3 separate regions of the Homo sapiens genome follow, and regions 1 and 3 are each linked to region 2. The links are contacts of gene promoters, found by promoter capture Hi-C in blood cells and fetal thymus (Javierre and others, 2016). All regions are on one chromosome and are shown on one strand. Each heading gives the region's core, a stretch centred on a gene start or on the middle of the fragment in contact. The rest is flanking DNA. Distances are from core to core; before and after follow the strand shown. Region 1 holds the start of NR1I2 (nuclear receptor subfamily 1 group I member 2). Region 2 holds the start of CD80 (CD80 molecule). Region 3 overlaps CFAP91 (cilia and flagella associated protein 91).

What was found. The method cuts DNA at HindIII sites, captures the fragments that hold promoters and counts their contacts. A CHiCAGO score of 5 or more calls a contact.
Region 1: the fragment with the promoter of NR1I2 here is called in contact with the fragment with the promoter of CD80 in region 2 in 11 of 17 cell types (neutrophils, erythroblasts, M2 macrophages and 8 more); the score reaches 13.0 in neutrophils.
Region 3: a contact is called between a fragment that was not itself captured here and the fragment with the promoter of CD80 in region 2, in 1 of 17 cell types (monocytes). The highest score is 6.4, in monocytes.

The regions. Positions count from the first base shown.
Region 1 is chr3:119,780,195-119,783,471 of GRCh38, forward strand. NR1I2 (nuclear receptor subfamily 1 group I member 2) reads left to right here and starts at 1,907. Exons shown (of 9, transcript NM_003889.4): 1 at 1,907-2,106. The HindIII fragment of the contact is 6,406 bases long and covers 1-3,107 here.
Region 2 is chr3:119,557,845-119,561,222 of GRCh38, forward strand. CD80 (CD80 molecule) reads right to left here and starts at 1,770. Exons shown (of 7, transcript NM_005191.4): 1 at 1,596-1,770; 2 at 1-84. LOC107986118 (a long non-coding RNA gene) reads left to right here and starts at 2,586. Exons shown (of 2, transcript XR_001740861.2): 1 at 2,586-2,901. RefSeq lists a silencer at 78-372 and enhancers at 78-372, 734-893, 1,164-1,223, 1,994-2,043. The HindIII fragment of the contact is 26,007 bases long and covers 1-2,676 here.
Region 3 is chr3:119,705,329-119,708,647 of GRCh38, forward strand. It overlaps CFAP91 (cilia and flagella associated protein 91), which reads left to right. Exons shown (of 18, transcript NM_033364.4): 2 at 1,481-1,557; 3 at 2,076-2,233; 4 at 3,263-3,319. Among named protein-coding and RNA genes, the nearest start is that of CFAP91, 4.0 kb to the left of the region's middle. The HindIII fragment of the contact is 4,731 bases long and covers 1-3,319 here.

The DNA.
Region 1 (3,277 bases), core at 657-3,156, 220 kb after region 2:
AGAAACCTGAGAATATTTCCTTTACCTCAGTGGTTTCATAATCTGTTCTTAGTTTCCTGTTTCTGCTGTAAATAATTCACTATATTTTTAAGAGAGAGAAGGTCAGGCCCTTGTGAGCCAGAAGGGATTTGAGAGATGATGAAAGCTACGTATGTTACCCATAACCTAAGGACTTCTGGCAAGGTGGCCTACCTGAGCTGGAGTCATGCCTTTTTTCCCTGGACTTGGAGATACCTGTCAGTGCAGAAAGGCCTACTTTTGATCTTGGAAATAAGTTTCCTGGGGTGAGTTCTTAACCCTTTCCAGCTTTCCCACCCTCTTTGGCTTTAGCCATGGCCTTCTGATCTGTGTTTCTCAGGGGACCTGCAGGCCCCAGATATAGCCCCATGCTGTCCTCCTACCCCAGAGCACACTGTTCAGGCTACTTCCACTGGTACTGAAATCCAGTATTTCACTTACTCTTTTTCTTTCCAATATCCTCATGACATTCAATATTTCACTTACTCTAGGTCCTCCCTGCCTAAGGCCCAAGTCAACTTTCTGTCCAGTGGGATTTGTAATCCAATACCTCCTAGCCCTAGCAGAATCCCATGTGGATAATCAGAAATGTGACTGGAAAAAGGACAGAGCTCTATGGCTGTGGGTCCCAGTCCCCACTGCTGGCAGTAAGTCCCCAGCAGTGAGCTGTGTAAGCACCTTACATTCTGCGCTTGGTTGAAAACAGCAAGGCAAGCATCCACTTGAGAAATGTCAACCCCTAGGAAATCCCAGCCTCAAGTCTTTCTCATCCCTTGGGAAGTGCAAATTGGATAGAGAAGAAACCAATTAAAAACAAAACAAACAAATCATACTTAGATATTCTGGCTTTTCTCACCAGGGCTGGATTAAAGCATGTACTTCAAAATAATAACAACTTAAGTCAATAAATAAATGTAAGGAAGTCCAAATGTTCACCTGAAGACAACTGTGGTCATTTTTTGGCAATCCCAGGTTCTCTTTTCTACCTGTTTGCTCAATCGTGGTCTCCCTCTCCCTCTCTTGTTGGGGCCCATGCCCCTGCTTTACTGTTGCCAGAGGCTTGTACTTGTTTGCCTTTTAGGTAGGAGCAGTTACTTCCACTCCCCTCACCTGCCATAAAGCATCTTTATAAACAAAGCAAGTAGAAGAAACACATCCTGGTATCCACCACATTCGGCTTTTGTTGATTCTGTTCACTTGGGAGCACCTGCTGCTAGGGAATAAGAAGGTTGAGGCTGAAGAGTGAGGACTCTTCAGCTCCCCTCTGGCAGGACCCGGGAGAGGAAAGAGCCCTCAGCTGGTCCATCCTCCCCACTCCTGGTCAGCCTTCTGTTCTGAGATCAAAGTGGTGGGGTCACATTCTCGAGAACTGTGCTCAGCCCCCTCATCTCACACCCTTTCCCTCTCCCTGTGTGCCTGCCCCCCTCTTACATAACCATGCTGGTGATTGGCACCGTCATAAATCAATACTTTGCTCACTTTCACATCAAGTAACACTATCCAGGGAGGTGGTTTCAACAAAGGAGGAAGTATAAGGAGATCTAGGTTCAAATTAATGTTGCCCCTAGTGGTAAAGGACAGAGACCCTCAGACTGATGAAATGCACTCAGAATTACTTAGACAAAGCGGATATTTGCCACTCTCTTCCCCTTTTCCTGTGTTTTTGTAGTGAAGAGACCTGAAAGAAAAAAGTAGGGAGAACATAATGAGAACAAATACGGTAATCTCTTCATTTGCTAGTTCAAGTGCTGGACTTGGGACTTAGGAGGGGCAATGGAGCCGCTTAGTGCCTACATCTGACTTGGACTGAAATATAGGTGAGAGACAAGATTGTCTCATATCCGGGGAAATCATAACCTATGACTAGGACGGGAAGAGGAAGCACTGCCTTTACTTCAGTGGGAATCTCGGCCTCAGCCTGCAAGCCAAGTGTTCACAGTGAGAAAAGCAAGAGAATAAGCTAATACTCCTGTCCTGAACAAGGCAGCGGCTCCTTGGTAAAGCTACTCCTTGATCGATCCTTTGCACCGGATTGTTCAAAGTGGACCCCAGGGGAGAAGTCGGAGCAAAGAACTTACCACCAAGCAGGTATGGTTTTTCTTTCTTTCTCTTTTGCTGGGGGCTGACCGCCCTTCAGCTCCAGCCAAAAGATGTGTGTGAACACAAATATACCTTCTGTTTGAGGTCAGCATCATAGTGGGTCGTGAATCATGTTGGCCTTGCTGCTGTCTCCTCATTTCTAGGGTGGAAAAAAAAAAGCATGAAAACAATCACTTAATGTTGAGCCCCATTACTGATGCTCTCTGGTCCTGCACTAGCCTCCTAGAAAAATCACCACAGGAGAAGCCTTAACTACTGCATGAGTTACCACAAGTCACACATACAACCAGCTCCCTGTTACAGGGCTGGAGTCCCTGGACCCAGGAAATACCACCTCCAAGGACTGTGGGAGCTGGGGACTATGGGAACTGGGATCAACTCAGTCCTGATTCCTTTTGGCCTGCTGGGTTAGTGCTGGCAGCCCCCTGAGGCCAAGGACAGCAGCATGACAGTCACCAGGACTCACCACTTCAAGGAGGGGTCCCTCAGAGCACCTGCCATACCCCTGCACAGTGCTGCGGCTGAGTTGGCTTCAAACCAGTGAGTTTTCTACCTCTACTATTGAAAGGGCACCTTGTCCCACAGAACCGAGTCTTGCCTGCATGTGGTCAGTGCCACCAGGTCCTTCTTCTCTCCACTTTACAGCCCAGCTCGGCTGAAGCTATGGCCAGAGGCACTGCTTTAAGGCCACTCCATATCTAGGACAGGTCAACAGACACCTCTGAGGCCACTGAGTCTTGACTCAATGAATCAGCTATAGCAGGCACTATTCCTCTCCCACATGGCCTCTAATGATATGGTCAGAGTTGAAAGGATGCTAAGGGAGGCCTCAGAGGCTTATTTAATCAGTTGGTTAATGGGAAAAAGTATTTTGTGGTACACAAATACGCTTTAAAAATATTTTAGTTATGTCATAAAAGTCTAAACCTGGGGTTGACAAACTATGGCTCACAGGCTAACTCTGGCCCACCAGCTGTTTTTATAAATGAAGCTTTATTGGAACACAGCCATGCCCATTCGTTATGTATTGTATATGGCTGTTTTTGCCCTACAACATCCTTTCAACTCTGGCCATATCATTAGAGGCCATGTGGGAGAGGAATAGTGCCTGCTATAGCTGATTCATTGAGTCAGCAAAATTGACCAATTGCGAAAGAGA
Region 2 (3,378 bases), core at 520-3,019:
AGACCCTCCAGTGATGTTTACAAAACACACAGAGATTGGAGGGTGTTCCTGGGTCTCCAAAGGTTGTGGATTTAGTTTCACAGCCTGAAAAAGGAACAAATAAAAGTCATTCAGGAAGGAAGGTGTGCCTACTTTGAGTTGCAAAACTCTCGAGTTGCCTGCTAAAATTAATTGGAGAGCTTAACCTAAGCAACCTCTAAAGCAGGGCGTGACCCTGAGGAAAAGCGAATGGAAATTCTGTGAGGGGACCAGTTCCAAGAACCAACCACAGCCCTTCCATGAAAAGGCTTTCTACTTAATAGGTGGGGTGAAGATTTGGTTAGAAACAGGAGAGCTCTAAGGACCCTCCATATCTGTTAGCCAACCTGCAAAAGTTCAAATCCTCTTCTGAACATACCAAGAAACATAGAGCAGACAGTAAGGGTGTATTTTGTCCAAGGCAGGACCTAAGTTATGAAACAACTTCTTTCTTGACATATTAACATAAGAAAACAAGTATCTCAATTCTTTAAACCCTCTACTCAAATAATATATCATAAAGGGGTATGAGATCTCAATAACCAGAAAAGTCTATCCATAAAAAGGGAGGGAAAAAAAGACACTGCAGACGTTACTTATCAAAATTATGTACTCCAGGGCCAGGCGTGGTGGCTCACGCCTGTAATCCCAGCACTTTGGGAGGCTGAGGTGGGCGGATTACTTGAGGCCAGGAGTTCCAGACCAGCCTGGCCAACATGGCAAAACCCCATTTCTACCAAAAATACAAAAATTAGCCAGGTGTGGTGGTGGGTGCCTGTAATCCCAGCCACTTGGGAGGCTGAGGCACGAGAATTGCTTGAATCCAGGAGGTGGAGGCTGCAGTGAGCCAAGATGATTGCAACACTGCACTCCAGCCTAGGCGACAGAGTGAGACTCCATCTCAAAAAAAAAAAAAAAAAAAATTATGTACTGTCATGTGAGGTGGCTAGGGATTAATTTTTCCAGTAAATATGTCAAAATTGAGAAATGAAAATAAACACTGTGCTCCACTGTCACCCCTTCAGGCTGCTACCAGGACACAGCCCCGTGCTGCTCAGAGAATGCTTGAGTGTCCTCTTTGGAGACCACCCTAGAGCTAGAGTTCCAGCCACGCCATATTGTTTTATTAGCCATCATCCATTTTAGACAGGATTAGTTAAAAGAGACTTATTCACCAGAATTTGTTTTTCTTAAGATAGAATCTTGCTCTGTCACACAGGCTAGAGTGCAGTGGCGTGACCATAGCTCACCACAGTCTCAACCTCCCGAGCTCAAGCGATTTTCCCACTTTCACTAGAATTTTACTGGCTTGAGAAATTCAAATACGGCCCACAAAAACAATATTTGCTAGGATCTAGGATATTTTAAAATAATGGGCCACAATTCTCACTATGATGCTCCAAATATGTCGGGAAGCCACAGCCTCCTGTGGGAATGAGACCCTAAGGGTTCCTTTGAGGGCAAGCCTGGATCCAGGAGGTGGTAGCAGAGGTATTGTTTGTTTAAAAAGCAGTGAGGTTGCTGGTAACTAGTTCTACCAAGCTATCCCATAGTAAGATAATAGTAAATGTACTTACTTGCTGAAGAAAAATTCCACTTTTTCTTTAAATCCTTTGATTTCAGGGTAAGACTCCACTTCTGAGATGTTCTCTTCTTACAGTCTATAAAGCAATGACAAATCACTTTTTCTTTGGGTAATCTTCAGAGAGGCGACATTTCCCCTTCTAACTTCTGTTACTTTACAGAGGGTTTGAGTTCACTCAGTACTTGTCAGTGCCAGGAGTTGGACAGGGTGTTTGAAGAAGCGCCCTCTGCTGCCGTCTTCTTCTAGTTGCTTTTGTAGAGGCTGTGGCTGGGGCAAATCACACAGCAGCCTCCCTCACCACCGTGCATGGACTAACAAACATGAAACACCACGAGCACCAGGCGGCCTAGGGGAGGAGAAGAATGGTGCCCGAGAAGAGTGAGGGGCATCTGGCTAGCCTTGCTGTGTGATGGGAGGCCAGCTTCATGGGCTGGCTGTTTCTGTGCTGGTCTCAAGTTTTGTTTTAGCACCCAGAGTTACTCCTGAGTCCCTGCAGGAATAAGCTGTCAACCTCATATGTAGGGGACACTTTTGGGAGAGTGCTCAGCTCACAGGACCACCCAACTCTACTCCCACCTCTGAATCCCACCATCTTCAGAGAGTGGGCTCCTGCCAGCCACGCTGGACAGTGAATTCTGGTCACCCTAGCCACAGTTGAGTGCGCCTCTGGTGGGATGAGGAAGACTTTAGTCATGCCCATCACTCCCATTTCCAACTAGGTTGCCACCCACCCCTGTGTGTCCCTTTGTAGGATTCTGGAGCCCCTGTGAGTGAGCAGCTGACCCATGCTGGACCAGTGTACTTGTTTGCACAGGTGGAACCTGACAGCACCTTGCATGGGTTGCAGTGAGCCGAGATCACAACACTACAATCCAGCTTGGGTAACAGAGCAAGACTCCATCTCAAAAAAAAAAAAAAAAAAAAGACGCCATCCTTCCCACACCAGCCAGAAAGAGAGCAAACCGTGTGGGTGAGAAATACTGACTACAGCGGCGGCTTCCTTCATCTCAGCAACAAGTTTGTGGCAGAGCTTAGTGGATACCACCCTATTCACCTGAGATTTGGAATACTGAAGCTTTGGAAATCATGAAGGCAGAACTTGCTATGAAAGGACTCCACTGCACTGTCTCCTTCTGTATTGGCAGAAGGGGCCTAGTGAGCACCCTTCTTCACCTGTGTCTTGTTCTGGTCTCAGATGCATATTTTGAATAGTTGCAAGGAATATGGATGTGACAATTCCTGCCTTACCTCTAGTAGATCAACATTACATTTTCAAGTAAAGGGAACATAGATTGGAGGTAAGTTCATGTTTTCTATTTTCTTGAACATTTATTCAGATCAAAGAAATGTTTTCACTGATTTTAGCCACTTCTACTTGATACATTATTACAATGCACTGGAAGTGATTTTTTTTCCAGGTATTTAAAGTAATAGAAAGTTATAGATGTCAACTTAAAAGAGCAAAGAAATACAGAGTTTTAGAAATTTATTTTCTTTTTTTTTTTTTAGATGAAGTCTTTCTCTGCCGCCCAGGCTGGAGTGCAGTGGTGCAATCTTGGCTCACTGCAACCTCCGCCTCCTGGGTTCAAGCAATTCTTCTGCCTCAGCCTCCTGAGTAGCTGGGACTACAGGCGTGTGCCACCATGCCAGGCTAATTTTTAAATTTTTAGTAGAGATGGGGTTTCACCATATTGGCCAGGCTGGTCTCAAACTCCTGACCTTGTGATCCACCCTCCTCGGCCTCCCAAAGTGCTGGGATTACAGGCATGAGCCAC
Region 3 (3,319 bases), core at 326-2,825, 150 kb after region 2:
CACCTTTCCAGGTTCTTTTACCCTTCCTTATGAAGCCCTATGTGATTAGTTCCCTAGTTACTTCTCTGGCCTCTTATCTACTCTCTTTCCCCTCCTTCATTCTGCCTCATTTGTCCTGGTTTCTTTGCTATTCTTCAGACGTATCAGGCATGTTCCCATCCTAGGGACTTTGCTGTTCTTCAGATGTATCAGGCATGCTCCCATCCTAGAATGTTCTTCAGATATCTAACTAGCTAACTCCCTCACCTTCAAGTCTCCTTACATGCCACCTTCTCAAGGGCCTGCCCCGACCACCCTAGTTAAAATTGCAACCCAATCTTCCTTACCCGATTTCTTCTTTTTTAAAAATAACAACCCTCAAATTCTAATGTGTAATTTGCTAGTTTATTATGTTTGTTGTTTGTTGTCTCTCTCTCATGAAGTCAAAGATTTTTGTCGTTTTGTTGATGTATTCTAAGCACCTAGATAGAGTAGCCAGTCAATAAACATGTGTTGAATGAAGGAGCAAAAAGAGCCTGAGCCTCTTGCAGCTTTTCAGCCTTGGTGGGAATATCCAATGTCTGCATTCAGTAAATCGTATTTGTTGGGTTACTAATGAATTATTAGGTTTTAGGAATTGACACACATTATCCAAATTCAAAAGAGACTTGTTTCTAAATCACAATTCCCAAATTATTAATTTCTATGGAGAAATATGTGTTACCATGTTATCTAGACTAGCTGGTCAGGGTATTTGCCTCCCCAGAGACAAGTCTACTTGGGAAATCAAGTGTATCCAAAGGCTGCTTGTTAATTTAATGGCAAATCAGTTGATTTTAAAGGGTGGTACAGTATAGTCAATCATGAATATTCTTCATCACTTTAAAGATATACCTGATAAACAGATACTTATAATAGCAGGGCAATATTTTGTTGAACTTTGTAAAAATAACAGTTCCATCATCAGCAAACTTACAAACTTAAGGGGTGAATTCTGAAGATAGCTGATTTTTTTTTTAACCGTGTTCACCAATTCTGAGATATCATGTGGTTTGCATCTTTCTAGTGCACCAAATATGGGAGATGGTATAAATGTATTGCTTCTTTCACTTGCAAATTGGCATAGTGCGTATATACAAGGTCTTTCCCTTGAAGAATTTTTTGGGTTACCCAGGCTCAAAAGGAGTTTTGTTCATAGGAGAGAAGAAAGTGTGTTCAGGGTGTAGTACTTGAAAACATGCTAGACTTTCTTTATGAATTCCACTTCCGTAAGCTGACTTGGAATACTCAGAAAAGAAAAACATCTTGACAACTGTTGCTGGTAGAAGTGGTAGAGTAACAGGGCCACATGCACAACAGAGCATGAGCTGCTGCAGAGTCAGACAATATTTAAACTTTTAAATTTGTTTTCCAATTAAGAGATTACATTACTTTGCCATTATTCTCAGCCTAGGGGTAGATATGTTCTATCTGTTATGCTACTTGATTGTTTATTTTGCAGATCCATTGTTTATTGTGTCAAGTGAGAAAGACCATACACAGGCAAATATCCAAGCTACCCTGATTCGCAGCAGACTGGTATGTCTAATTCATCAGCCAAGGCTACCTGATGAACCTGAACCATCTAGTTTGCCTGACTGCATTGATCAGATTGACTAATCACCAAATCTTCACTGGATTTTAGGTTCCACAGAAATTACCTTGCCAAGATTACTGGAGGGCAAAGCATCTTAATACGTGTGGCTCATTGTGAGGATTAAGTCACCAATAATGAACAGAGAACCCATAAGCTAATTTATTTCAATGGGATAAATTTAATAATATATGCCCATGTTAAAAGAATTCAAGTAGTATAAAAGCATATACAGTGTGAAGTAAATTCTAGCCCTATCCCCTACCCCCTCCACATAAACAGCCATTGTCATCAGTTTCTTGGGCATGTATTTAAAGATATTTTACGCATACAGCAATAACCCCTCTTCTTATGCTGTATACATTGTTTTGTATGTTTTTAAAAAGAGTTTACAATGTAATTAAAATGCTTTAGAAAAGCTGATGGTATAATTTTGTCCTTTGCCTCCCTTCTCTAACATTAGAGAAAAGTTCCCAGGTTTAAAACCATGTTCAGTAACCTGATCCATTATCCAAGATATTCTCTATATTGGAGCAAGTCAGATCCTGTCCCACCATTTATCAGTCGGGAATGGAAGGGACATAAGGAGAAACACAGAGAAGCCCTCCGGCAGCTCACCACGTAAGTGTCGGGTGGCTCCAGGGCCTAAAATAAATGCATTAAAAGCATTTCTTTAAATTCATTTACCATGTGTGGTTTTAAAATGTTCAGTTGTGGTGTTATACCTAGGCCAAATTTTCTTTCTAAACCTCTTTTGACCAAACAAACCTGATTATATATTGTATATATGAGATATATATATATATATAATTTTGTCATATATATAATGACAACTTGCCACCAAAGGTAGGGATGATTGAGTTTGTTGTTGCTTGGATCCAACTTAGCAACTGAAAGTGCTCTGTTCTGCTAGTATCTAAAATATTTTTTGGGAACTTGGGGCCAAAGCACCTTCAAGAATAAGTCGAATTCTTTATTCTTTTAATTACTTACAAGTTCACATTTAGTAAATTAAAAATTATAAAGCCTTTTAACCTGGACATAGAAAAAGTGTCTTTTGGCCAGGCACAGTGGCTCACGCCTGTAATCCCAGCACTTTGGGAGGCCGAGGCAGGCGGATCATGAGGTCAGGAGATTGAGACCATCCTGGCTAACACGGTGAAACCCCGTCTCTACTAAAAATACAAAAAGTTAGCCGGGTGTGGTGGCAGGTGCCTGTAGTCCCAGCTACTTGGGAGGCTGAGGCAGGAGAATGGCATGAACCCAGGAGGTGGAGATTGCACCACTGCACTCCAGCCTGGGTGACAGAGCGAGACTCTGTCTCAAAAAAAAAAAAAAAAAAAATTGTCTTTTAATATTTTGCTATTCTTGTGTGCTTTTAATTAAAATTGGGCATTTTTGTATGTGGGATTTCATAAATCCACTCTTTTCTCAGCTCTTGCTCTGTCTGACTAGGTTCTGGTCTCCTGGCTCAGGGGAAGAATCATATATACTCTAAGTTGTATGGCAGTCAAATGCAGGTTATGGAAGACTTTACTCTCAGTATGAGATACTCTGTGTAGGTCCTACTCTATACACATAGAAATATTAAATAGAAATTATATGTGGAAATATTTTAGACTTGAATAATGTTTTCTTGCTTCATTTTAGAACTGACGCTTCTTTTCAGATGCCTAAAGAAGTTTATGAAGATCCTGAAGTTACTGG